Linked DNA regions of Homo sapiens: region 1 is linked to region 2. The links are contacts of gene promoters, found by promoter capture Hi-C in blood cells and fetal thymus (Javierre and others, 2016). All regions are on one chromosome and are shown on one strand. The core of a region is centred on a gene start or on the middle of the fragment in contact, and the rest is flanking DNA. Distances in the headings are between cores, read along the strand shown.

What was found. The method cuts DNA at HindIII sites, captures the fragments that hold promoters and counts their contacts. A CHiCAGO score of 5 or more calls a contact.
Region 1: the fragment with the promoter of GALC here is called in contact with the fragment with the promoter of MBIP in region 2 in 3 of 17 cell types (total CD4 T cells, activated CD4 T cells and fetal thymus); the score reaches 8.0 in total CD4 T cells.

Annotation. Positions count from the first base shown.
Region 1 is chr14:87,991,879-87,997,985 of GRCh38, forward strand. It overlaps GALC (galactosylceramidase), which reads right to left and starts at 1,304. Exons shown (of 17, transcript NM_000153.4): 1 at 1,092-1,304. The coding sequence starts at 1,286. It also overlaps the pseudogene RNU6-835P. RefSeq lists a silencer at 972-1,161 and enhancers at 1,117-1,617, 1,312-1,641. The HindIII fragment of the contact is 1,583 bases long and covers 285-1,867 here.
Region 2 is chr14:36,315,263-36,322,113 of GRCh38, forward strand. It overlaps MBIP (MAP3K12 binding inhibitory protein 1), which reads right to left and starts at 5,375. Exons shown (of 9, transcript NM_016586.3): 1 at 5,198-5,375; 2 at 1,431-1,550. The coding sequence starts at 5,326. RefSeq lists enhancers at 5,064-5,323, 5,724-5,773. The HindIII fragment of the contact is 840 bases long and covers 4,901-5,740 here.

The DNA.
Region 1 (6,107 bases), core at 54-2,553, about 52 Mb after region 2:
AAAAAAGATGGGGCCTCACTCCATGAAATATTGGCTGTTTCAGGTTTAGCCCAAAAACATAAAAAGGAGAATAGTAGTAGCAAAGAATAAATGCATTAACTCATCGGCCCACAGGTTTCCCCTGAAATACACATCAGCACGGCTGGAGAGATTGCAAATTAGGGAATGAAAACATAAAAATCAAAAAGGATCAGCTAACTCCAGGGGGAAAAAAATTTCCCCTAGCAGAAGGTTATATCTTGTGGTCACACTACAGACCAGGTCATCCTTGCAGCAGGCATTCAAGCTTGTTCTGAGTTGAATGTAAGGATGCAAGCTCCATCCAACTCAACCCCAAAAATCCGAGTTCAACCTTAACATTTTCAAGAAACATTAGCCCTAGATGTAATTTCGGATACAAAACCAAAAAACAAAAACCTTCTCACCCAAAGGTCGGCCACCATGAAGCCCATGGGCCCAGAGGGAGTACCCGGTAGTTTCAGGCCGCTCGCTTATCTTCCTTTTAAAGAGACCTTGAGGCACCAGTCCTGCCTCCAAACGAAATCCTATTCGGCGCTACCCTCTCTGGAGGAGCCCATTCTTACCCTGCACTAACAACTGCACGGGACTTAACGACTCCACCACCCACCAACTCCTCCAAAAGGGAGAGACACAGCCAAAGCATCCCACTGGGGCGTTCTCTTTCGCACACGGACGCTCCCGCACTCCCTGGCCCTTTCTGGAGCGACGCTCCCCGACTGCCATCTCCGCGATGAAGACAGCCTGTGCCCCACTGCCTGGGACGAGGGTTCCAGCCCCGGCTACTTCACTACTTAGACCTGTCACTTTACTCTCTGCACCTATACTCTCTGGACCTCCGGATCCTCATTTGTTCAAACCTAACTGCCTGTCTGGTTCGTGTTAAACGAGAAAGCACCCGCCCCAGCCCCGCAGCGGGCCCGCCCCAACCGCCTGCTGACTGGCACCCTAGGGGAATGCGGCGGAGAGTGGAGCCGGTGGAAACGCAGGGCAACGCCGCGGGGGCTTGTGGGGCTGGCCCCACGGGGCGGGCTCTTGCCGCCCCCCGCGTATCCCCGCAGCTTGCCGCTCACCCCGCCGCCGCTGACCGCGCCGATGCCGTCGAACTCCCGGCCCAGCCCGTCGGAGTCGTCGAGCACGTACGCGCCGCCGGGCGCCAGCAGCGCACACAGCAGCAAGGGCACCGCGGCGCGGCCCGCCGAACCCGCGGCCGCAGTCATAGCTTTCGCTCGGCGTTGCCAGGAAGCCGAGAGTAGCCACTCAGCCATTGTGTGGGTCACATGACTCCGGCGCCCAGGGAGGCGGGTCCCGTCGCCGCCACGATAGATACGGGCAGGAGGCCGCTGATGCTGACGCCGCCGCCGCCATTTTGAGTGCGGGTCAAGGGCCTCTGACGCAGCTGGCGGAGTGTTGAGAAAAGAAGCAGCGAGCTTTTTCTTATCGCTCGCGTGTCTGTGGTCAGCTACTGGATTTCACATGTACTTACTGCTGGCTTCTCTTCCGGCGTCACCTGGTGGAGCACTTTAACGCAGGGAAGGTGGATTCCAAGGTCCGCCAAAGGAAGAGGGCCATGAGTGGCCCTACCATGGCTCTTCCCCAGCATCTCAGGGAGTATCTACCTCGTGCGAGGACCAGGCTTGGACACCAGGTCCCGATTCCATTGTCATCTTGGTGGAATCACTTTGCTTTTGGAGCCTGAGTTTTCCCTTATGTGAGATGAGGCGAGAAGAGCAGCAGAGTGAGGGACTGAGAGAAAAGTTAATAAGCACTCAGTACATTTGAATGCATTCCACAAGTGGCAAATAGCTGAGAAGGTTCTCCAGTCTGGTAACTACCCCGGCATATTCAAAGCTTTTAGCCTTGAAGGAGTTAATAATATACCACCTCAAAATATGCTGCTGTGGCATATTGACTATTTTAAATTAAAGGCACTTAAAAACAGCAGGTGCAAGATCACTGTCATGGATATTATGTGTCTTAAAAGGAGGAGATGAAATTCCCATGTGAAAGATGTCTTCCCTATAAAATAACATTGTTATCTTCAAGGACAGAAAGTTGAAGTCGAGGGAAATCTGTCCAAACAAAATTTGTTAATCCCTATCTTTCTAGTCGCTTCTTTACCCCAAGCCCCTTCGCCTTATCATGTTTCACAACTACTATTTTTTGTCCATTTCACTCTATAAGCAATTGGCTCTTAACTGCTGCTTTAGGTCTTTTTTTTTTTTAATGAGGGCCCCCGTGCTATGTAAAATAAACATTTGTGTGGTTGTCTCCTGTCAGTCTATTAATATCTTAAATCAATTTAATACTAGGGCCATGCTGGGACCCTACAGGGACGAAGGTGAAATTTTGCCTCCCCTACAATTTTATAAACTATCTTCCACTGTCAGTTGAAGTGATTCCAGACAGGTAACTCTAAATTGGTAGGAAAGTTGTGAATTGCCCTGAATTTCTGCCACATCCAGCACTGTCCTGAGATTTCTGATTTCCTTGTTATTGAAGTAAATTAAAGAGACTCTGAAGAGCTGCAGAGAAAGATTTTCTGATCCCCAAATTTCTCTTAGCAGAAGTATGGAACTGGTTATCATTGCCTACACAAGCCCCTGAGATACCACAATGGCAAGGAAAAGACCCAGAGACTTTAGGACCTGTGGGATTTGTCTGCAGAACCCTATTTGGAATCTGATTATTTTGCCCCTTAACCACAAACCTAAATCTAAGTTTCAAGAACTCAATTATACTTGAAGGTCAAAGCTCTGGGCAATCCAATAAATATGCACATTAAGAACCCGATATCCCTGGGTTCTTAATGTACATTAGATATGTTTGTTCTTTCTTTCTTTTTGAATTGACTCTACGTCTATCCTGGTTTACTAAGGACAGTCACAACTTTTGTCTAAACATAATTACTGATAATGCTCCTTTCACCCTCAGTAGTCTTCTGGCTTGGATCAGTTAAATAGTCCCCTGTGTATGAACCACTTATTTTCTTTGGTTTCTTCTTTCCCCAGTACAACACGAATCTGAACTCTCTGCCTTGCCACTGCAACCAGTTTATGATGCAAGTCAGTAATTTTCAGTTCTGTGGATTTACTGTTACAGAATTCACTCTGATCCATTTGTTCTAACACAGTATTTTAAGCATGAGCTGGAGCTCCTGTGGATACAAGCCACAGTAACCATTCCATCAAGTGAATGTTAAGCTTCTCTTACCAGCTCTTAACAAGCGCATAAGACCCACTTAATACCGTGACTAGATGGGAAATACCAAGGTGATGACAGAGGAAACTACCTTACACATAAAACTAGGAAGTTGCATGACGATGTATGAATACCCAGCATACACCATCCTGTAGTACGTCATTGTGAAACGGGTCAGTGGTCAGTGGTCTCGTTGTCTGAGGTGTTATCCAAGCTTGTTGTCTCACAACCAAGAGAATTAAGGAGTGTGGACACCAGAGTGAGGTTGAAGAGAAAGTTTATTATATGAAAGAAGAAAGCTTTCTTTCTTTGCCATTTTGCCACTTTTACAGTTGAATCCAAAAGCTTTTATAAGAAACTCCTCTCATCTCTGTAGCTGTTTGTGTAACTTACTTGTAAAGCTATCTGTGCAGCTCCCCTTATCTGTGCAGCTGTGGGTATGTCTTGGGTAAGGATAAAGTTCAGCTTCTCTTGTTTGTGTAACTGTGGGTTCTAGGTAATCACCCTCTCCACCCCCATGCAAGTTCCCACAGAGCCCACCATGTATGTGCCTGAAAAGGGGAAGAAACTTTTTCCTGGGAACCTGCTAATCACACAAAGAACAAAAGGCTTCTATGTTGGGCCTTCCTTTCTTATCAGGGCAGCTGTTGCCTGAGTTTTCCCCAGGCCACTCTATGTGTGCCTGTAGCTTGATTTTTCAGGCTGTCTTTCTGTTTAAAAGAATTTTACCAAAGACCAACTTTAGCTGTCTGCCCAACTAAGTTTTCCCTTTTCTCGTCCCTCAATTGCACCTTGTAGTTGGAATGCACGCCACAAATATTTGAGCAATGTGTGAAGTCTACAAAAGAGGAAGCATAAACTCTAATGGAAAAGGTAGCCTCACTTCCAGGAAGTCCCAGTAGTTCCTATTAGTTCAGTTACCAAAGAAATTGCTTACCAGATAAATATTTTTTGTTTCTAATTTCTGATCTATATTCATGAGAGCAGACATGAGGTAAGAAAGTTTCTAATAAAAGGCCAATAAATACATGCTGACAGAAATCCTTGGAGTGCTGGGCACGGCACTCAAATGTGCTCAAGATGTGAGATAAAGAAAAATGACAGTTACCCCACGAGTGATCATATGCTTAGCTTCCCTTGCGTCTGTGGATCAGGGTCAGTGAGATAAGACGGTAAGAAAGGAAGGTCCCAGTTTTCAGATTTTAAATGAGTTTAAAAAGTAATGACAGTGTTTCTCTCTCTGTCTTTTTAATCTGAAACACTTCAAGAATTTGCATGTCATCCTTGCTCAGAGGCCACACTGATCTCTGTAACATTCCAGTGTTTGTAAATGTGCTGCCAAAGGAAACACGATGATTTTTCTCTTAAATAACAGGTGTTTCTAAGTATCACAACTATACTTCAGCCACCCCAAATCTCTCCTTTTTCTAAATAAAATAATGTGATCAAAATCAAATAGTCTCTTGAGAAGGATCAGAGATCTTGCCTTTTAATGAAAATTTATTGATAAACTCTAATAGCAGTCTGGATTTTTTTTTTTATTTCCCCAAGACTATCATAAAACGGTATGATAGCAGTCTGTTGTCTCACTTCAGGAAAAGGCTTTACTTTTATAAATCAGTCCACCTCCCCTTCAGTCTACCATTGATGGGCATTTAGGTTGATTCCATGTTTTTGCTATTAGGCTGTCAGAAATTCCAGGGCAGAGGCCAAGTTTATTTCTTCTTTGTATGTCTTAAGCACAGTGCCCAAACTGTGCTAAGTACTCAATAAATATTAGTTGAATTGAACTAAAAGACAAATCACTGAATGGTCACATAAGGGGATACGAATAAAGAATTATTTACAAAAGGAGTTGGAAACGTTTCTTAAAGTAGGAATCCCCTGGGACATAAGAGTGTGGAGTGTTTTCTTGAACTGTCCTGTAACATCTGCTATATTTTTTACCTTTTATTTTAGGTTCAGGGTGCATGTGCAGGTTTGTTACAAAGGTAAATTGCATGTCCTAGGGTTGATGTACAGATTATTTCATTACCCAGGTAATAAGCATAGTACTCAATAGGTAGTTTTTTGATCCTTCCCCATCCCCCATCCTCCACCCTTAAGTCGGCCCCAGTGCCTGTTGTTTTGTTGTTGTTTGTGTCCATATGTACTCGATGTTCAGCTCCGTCTTATAAGTGAGAATATGCAGTATTTGGTTTTCTATTCCTGTGTTAGTCTTCTTAGGGTAATGGCCTCCAGCTCCATTCATGTTGCTACAAAGAACATGATCTCATTCTTTTTTTTTTTTTTTTTTTTTTTTTTGAGACAGAGTCTTGCTCTGTCATCCAGGCTAGAGTGCAGTGGTGCGATCTCGGCTCACTGCAATCTCTGCCTCCCAGGTTCAAGCGATTCTCCTGACTCAGCCTCCTGAGTAGCTGGGATTACAGGGTGTGCCACCACACCTGGCTAATTTTTGTATTTTTAATAGAGACGGGGTTTCACCATGTTGGTCAGGCTGGTCTCGAACTCCTGACCTCGTGATCTGCCCGCCTCGGCTTTCCAAAGTGCTGGGATTACAGGCCTGAGCCACAGCACCTGGCCTGTCATTCTTTTTTATAGCTGCATGGTATTCCAGGTTGTATATGTAACACATTTTCTTTATCCATTAATAGACCACTGATGGAGATTTAGGTTGATTCCATGGCTTTGCTATTGCAAATAGTGCTGAAATGACCATCCACTTGCATGTGTCTTTATGGGAGAATGACTTATATTCCTTTCAGTATATATCCAACATCTGCCATTTGTCTGGTCTTTCAACTCTGGACGTGTTTCTTGATGGCAACTGTTAGTTATACTGCCCTACTGAGTGACTTCTCTCTAAAATATGTTATAAGGCTCTATTC
Region 2 (6,851 bases), core at 4,125-6,624:
GCACCAATGCCACTTAATTAACATGTCATTCAAATGCCTCCTCAGAACACTAAGGCTTAGTATTTTTCCTCCTTAACACGAGAGCTAGTGCTCTCACTCAGCAAAGCCCTGCATTATCACTGTATCACTGGAGATTCTCCACTTGAAACTGCAGTTGGCCAATGTGAATGAGGAAGCATAGACATGAAATATATAGGTGTTAGGCTGAGTGAACACTCAGACTTTTCCTGACATGGCAAGATATCTTTTGGTCATAAAATTAAATTTTAAAAAAGAAAACGAACAAGAAAAAAAAAAGATCTATAGCTGAAAACAGGCAGAGGCCTATCACTATACTACAGGGGGAAAACCCCTGTTGTAGAATTTAAACTATATTACTCATTTACTGTTCCCCTCCCCCACTCCCCACAATGAGGTCTCATTTGAGTTCTAGAGCTCACTGCTCTGCCCTTTAAAAACAGGGTTAACTATTACTTTTAACATGAAACAGTTAAAATTTCCCACAAAGTCAATGAATGGAGGGCTGAAAATTAATGCCTATTCCATTAGTCAAAACACACTAACACTAATAACGTTCCAATTATTTTTTTCATACCTACAATTTTGCTTCCATTGTTCGCTATACTACTCTTTTGAAATCTTATAACACCTTAATCACAGTAAACTGACCAATCCAGTTTTTCCACTTATCTTTTTGACACTTCACATTTTACACTTTGATTAGAGATAAACTGCAAACTTACATCAATTATAATTGCAAAGATGTTCAATTAGAAACCAGCAAGGTCATAATACTGTTCAGTTATTAACATGAAATATTTAAAAATATAACAACACTATTATAAATACCAATTCAATATTAACTTCTAATATAAAGAATGAATTATTTCAAACTGTTAAGGAAAAGAAATGATAAAATAGTGACTGGCTACTTACTAAGATGAGACATTAATGTCATAGAAATTACTTTCTTTTTAAAAACTATGCTGAAACTGTTTAATTGCAATAGACACTCCAGGATGTGTCATGCTGGGATAATGCCCCTTCTTGAACCACTGAAAGCACTCCATGAGCCTCCAAACTCACCCAAGGCATGGAATCATTATCATAGCATGACACACACCTGCCGTGTCTTATTGCTTAATTATAACCCACCATAGATGGAACTGTATTGAATTTTCAGTGCAGGTCTAGAATTGAATAGAATTGCATTCATTCACTCATACCCACATTGGTCTTTTGGGCTATATTCCCTTAACTGTCCTGATCACTACTGAAATTAACAGATTTAGATTAAATCCGGATGTAAATAACGTTTTATTAGCAACACTATTAATATAGTGTTTAGAACTGTCAAATACTCCAACTAACTTAACCACAATCAATTTCTATTTTCAATATCGGGTTATCATTTCTAACAAGAAATTTACCTGTAAATATAAAATGTGTTGTTCAAGTGCACTAAAGAGCAATGCAGGCTGGAATGCCGAGAGGCTCTGGAGCTTGTTCCAATCGATTGTAATTTTCACCACATCATCTCTGAGGTCAAGCTTCAAAGGGGCAAACCAGCAACATCACAAAAATTACACGATTAAGCTCTACATATGGAATTGTCACAAAAATAAGATTTCTAGAGTAACGGGTCTATTTTGCTCTAAGTTATCAAGTTTTTAATAATACACTGAAATGCTCTACCCAGTTACCATTTCAAAAGGCCAAGAAAGCTACAGATTTTCATAAAAAAACAAAAACAAAATGACATGTCGTTCAAATTCTATTCTTAGGTCTGTGTAATGGGACCATTTTAGAGGTAAAACCATTCATGAAAGATGAAAAGATGAAGGCTCTTTTGATACTTCAATATATACAAACCTTTGGATGGAGTCCAATATAGGCTTGCCCTATTCAGAATCCTACTACTTCTAGCTCAGAGCCTTAAACAGAGGAAGTACAAGTGTTTTGTGAAAGTTTTAACATGCATCTTTCTCTTTAAGTATGTACACAAATACATATCAGAAATATATCATTATTCTGATGTCCTCCAAATCACATTTTTAGTTTTTTAACTTTTAACCGATTTTTAAACTAATTTAAAAGTCAAGATTATTCATACATATAAAGTGTAGGGATAAATGGCAACATGTTTATTTCAAATAAAAAACTATTATTTAGCAATGGAAGTCTGAAGCTGAAAAACAAAGACTTCTCCACCACAGTGAAATAAGTTGTCAGACTGGATGAAATGTCCAGATCTTTTGTAAATGCTAAGATGTGACAGCTCATTATATGGAAATTTCTATCAGTTGGTGATCTAATAGAATAAAATCATATCCAGAAAACTACCAAGAACCTGAATATAAGATTATTATCAAAATGAGTGAAAATTTTACAATGAGAGCGCCCATCTGCAGTCTTTTGAATGAATAAAAGTGAACCATCAAAAACTTTTCTAGGGACATGTGTTTACAGCATAGTATAAGACTATACTTCATAGTAGAATCAAGTTAACATAATTTATTCAAAATGAGTCATCTTTTCTACAAAATAAAGGTGTTACGTGAGTTCAAATACAGATTTTATGAGTCACAATTATAATAAAAAAGATGAATCACTGTACAAAGATCAAAAAGATATAAGGTTACCAATAAAAAGATAATATATTGAATAAATACTATGTGACAGAAATTTACTGCCCTTTGAAGATGAGAATGGAAGCATTTAAAAGTCCATATTAGACAAGTATAAAGAGATATGAAATTTCATGTAGGCTGCACTGGCAAAGATTAGAATATATTAAGATTGTACATTAAAGTTAATGCATTAATTTATATTACTTTAATTCCTATAAAGATTTTGTTAGACAACAACCTGTATTATGTATGGAAGTAACCCATTAATGTACTTTCATAGTCTTCAAGGAGATCTATAGTTGATTATAGAAAACTTAAGAATACAGCTTGGGGATAAAGCAGGCAAATCCTCAACCAAAGCAAAGTATCACATTTTCTAGAGAAAATAACTTATAGAAAAATAAGTCTTAATGTTTGGTTCATATTCTCATTTCAATTCAGCAGAATTACATAAGCTTCAAGTGCAATTAAGAATAATTAGTCTTTTAAGAAAACCACATAATGTCACAAATTAATTTTAAAACTGTCCTAATACATCTAACTATTCATTCAACAAATTCATTATTAGTAATATGAACTCTATGCATTTTGCCCTACAGAACTTGGAAGAGTAAACCACTCACTCGAAAATCTCTATTAGTCTGCTATTAATATAGACTATTTAAATATATATTTTCAGTAAAAACTTTACTAAATTAATACAAAAATCCAAGCTAAAAATAAATAATTGTTTAGCTTGGTAAGATGGACCATCCAGAGGCAAGCAAAAAGGTTAAAATTAGTAAATTTTGTGATCTTAAGTAAAAAATTATTTTTAACATTCAGTTTTATGTTTCCTACTGAGGAGATCTAATAATACAACGATACTTAGGGATGACACAGGATGAAGTTAGGCATGTTACAACATACATTCTAAATATCCTTTAAAGTGGTTGCAAAAGAAAATACTGATTTCTCTGGGGGCAATTTTATAAGTATGGAACTCTAATTTTCACTCTTAACACTTCTCAAAATATAGAGTATTATGAAAACAGTTTGTATTTAATTGATGAAACAATCATATTTTTGACACTTGTATAGGAGGTCCCTTCACTGTGTCATGGTAAAGTAACCAAATATTTACTGTGAACATTTTTGACAGGTGACATAAGTAAATTGTAATCACTTCTTTACTTGTACAGTACTTGAATGTTTAAAATTTTCTAATGAGTTTGAAAAATTCAGTATGCAAAATATTTCAAAAGAAATGTTTAAATCATTGCTCAGTATTTTTTAAAAATATTCCATCTTCTGTTAACAGGTGAGAATAAACTTTTTTCATCTTGACATTATAAAATAAATAAACTTAAGTTCCAACGTCGCCATAAAAAGTTCTCTAACTTTTAAACCATTTAAACGTCTTGGGTCTTAAGAATGGAATGTTAATAACAAAACACCCCAAGTCTTTAAAAAATGTTTTTGGTAAGTACTTGGCAAACAACTGAATTTAAAAGTTATATCTTTAAGCAGACTCCATTAATAACTGCGTCATTTCATAAAACCGTTTAACTTACAGTAATGTTCTTTGTAAGACACAACATACTACGATTTTTAAAAATAGTAACTTCTTAAAAGACTGATTCTCCATCTACTCAAGGCTTTAAAAATAATTTTCACAAATCAGACAAATGTTCTATTTTCATAGGAATTTACCATTATCTTTGACACAAATGCCTGCTTTGTCCACTTGCGCTAGTACCAGCCCCAAAACAAACTTTTACGGCTAGAAAATGGTCTATGTAAGATAGAAAATATTTCCTTTTAAAAGGCAGGTAAACAAGCATACTTTTAAATTGTTTCTCATTTAAAACTTGAATTTTACACCATGAAACGAAACAGTGACTTGATCGAAGAAGCCCATTTCAATTTAAAACCAATTTTACTATGACATTTCTGCAAAAGCGATTTATCAGCCAGTTAAACTAGTTAATAGTTAAATAACGACAGTTCTAACGCCAACAGCATTTTACGCTAGAAGTATTTTAAATGAATTCCTTTTACTTTTCTCCCCATTTGAAAGGATTATAGATGCGCAAAACAGCCCGAAGGAAAAAAGAAATAAACAAAACCAAGTAACTCATAAGAACAAATTACTCCCTCCCCCACCAAAAAAAGCTAATAAGCGCGCGCTTTTCTATAAATCTCAGGCCTACTGACCAACCAATTCCCATAAAGAGTAAGTTGGAGGAAAAAGGACCCTGAACGCTAAGCGCCTCCTAAACTCGCAGTGAAGCTTTTCCACATTCATTCTCTCCAAGCCTGCCTCTCTCGGAGCCGGGTTTTCACTTAGGCCAACCTCACCCACTCTTGGGGAGGACAGCTGCAAGGTAAACGACTCTGCAACCGGTACCGCCGTCCTCCTCACTCCGACCGAGGAGGCTGGGCCCGGGCTCCTTCCACACCTCGGCTTCGGGACCGCATCCCACACCTCTGCAGGCCTAGCTGCCCCCGGCCTCTGCTAGAGAAAAAGAATGGCGAGGAGGGACCGGATGGTTTCCATATTCCCAGTCCCTCAGGCCACCTCTCACCTGTCCAACCAGGGTGTGTAGGGAGCGAAAGATTTCGTAGAGCACCTCTCGGGAGAGGTTGGGTCTGCATCTTCGCTCCAGGTTCCTGTCACCGCTGCTCGGGCGATTAAGCTCCGTGGCAGCAGCCATGATATCTTCTCAGGCCGCCCCACCACCACCACCACCAAGATTTGCTCACAACCCCGCCCCCTCCCTTCCAGCTTTAGTCGCTTGGCGATGACGTAAGACACGGAGTCTGGTTTAGATCGGGCTTTGAGGCCCCACCCTCTCTATGTGAATGACAAGCACGTTACACCAATCAGTTGCAGCTGTGACATTGCGCCGAGGCTCTGAAGTGGGTAATTGCAGACCACAGCTAGGCTGGAATGCTGTGTTTGGGGTGGTCATTAGAGTCGTGGTCTCTTTAGCGTTATGAAGCCTACCTTGACTCCTAGGTGTTCATTGTGAATCTTGGTAAGAGGAGACATAGTTAAATTTTGTAGTTTGAGTCCAAAAAGTAAAAGTTGACATTTTAACATGGCGGTGTGGAGTGGGTCTGGAGGAAGCTTGCTGGTCAGGGATGGAGTGGTGCCCACACGTGTTTCTAAACATTGGAAAACTCACACGGAATTATCATGATTGGATAGAACATTTTCATCTCTTCAAGTTTGTTGTTGTTGTTTTGGAGACAGAGTCTCACTCTGTCGCCCAGACTGGAGTGCAGTGGCACTACCTCGGCTCACTGCAACCTCCGCCTCCCAGGTTCAAGCGGTTCTCCTGCCTCAGCCTCCTGAGTAACTGGGACTACAGTTGATATTCTCTGTTTTAACTGTAGAGACGCTTAACCCTAAAATTGTTTCAAAGAAATGAAACACTGTCAATATAATTCCAACAGGAATTTAACCTGGATAAATAATATCATGCAACCACAATCTTTGAAATTAGGACATAAAACCGAATTCAAATTTTACAAAGTATTATTTATCATAATAGCTTTATTATAACGATGTTTGTGGGGTTTTGTAATCTTTTAGTCAGACTCCGATATTTTTAAAAAGTGTTATCCAATTAAAGTATTACAATAATTTTTAGTGTTAAGCTTTATTCAAAAACACTTTAAGAAATCAACATCAGCTTAGAGATAAGGAAGGTGGGATTTAAAACTCGTAATTCTGTTAATAGTCTAATGCATTTACAGTAGAGAAAGCAAAGGTGGAAACTTGCACAATGTGTATTCTTTAGTTTTAGGGTAGACTAAATTAAAGGGAAGGACTAATGCATCAAGGAACTAAGATAAGGACGATGGGGATAAAAACTCCTTTGACCTGTCCCTAGGGAGTCTCTTAATTAGGCTTTCATTTCCAAAGACAAATGGGATCACCAGGCTTGACAGAATCTTGGGAAATCTTTTCTGTTCCCTTGTTGGCAGCAAGATATACAACTGACATTCCAGCCTATTTCTACAGGCAGAAAAATACTTCACAATGTCCAGTCTCAAATTGAGCAACCTTCTTATTCAAGCATGGTAATGGGGTAACTGTAAGTTTTTGTTTTGTACCAAATTAGCAATCAGTTTCAGATCATTTGTTTTCATTGAGGTGTTTCATATTTTTTCAAATATGGAGAACACTGATATGCAACACATTTGGGAATATGCTTTGTATATTTAAAAAAT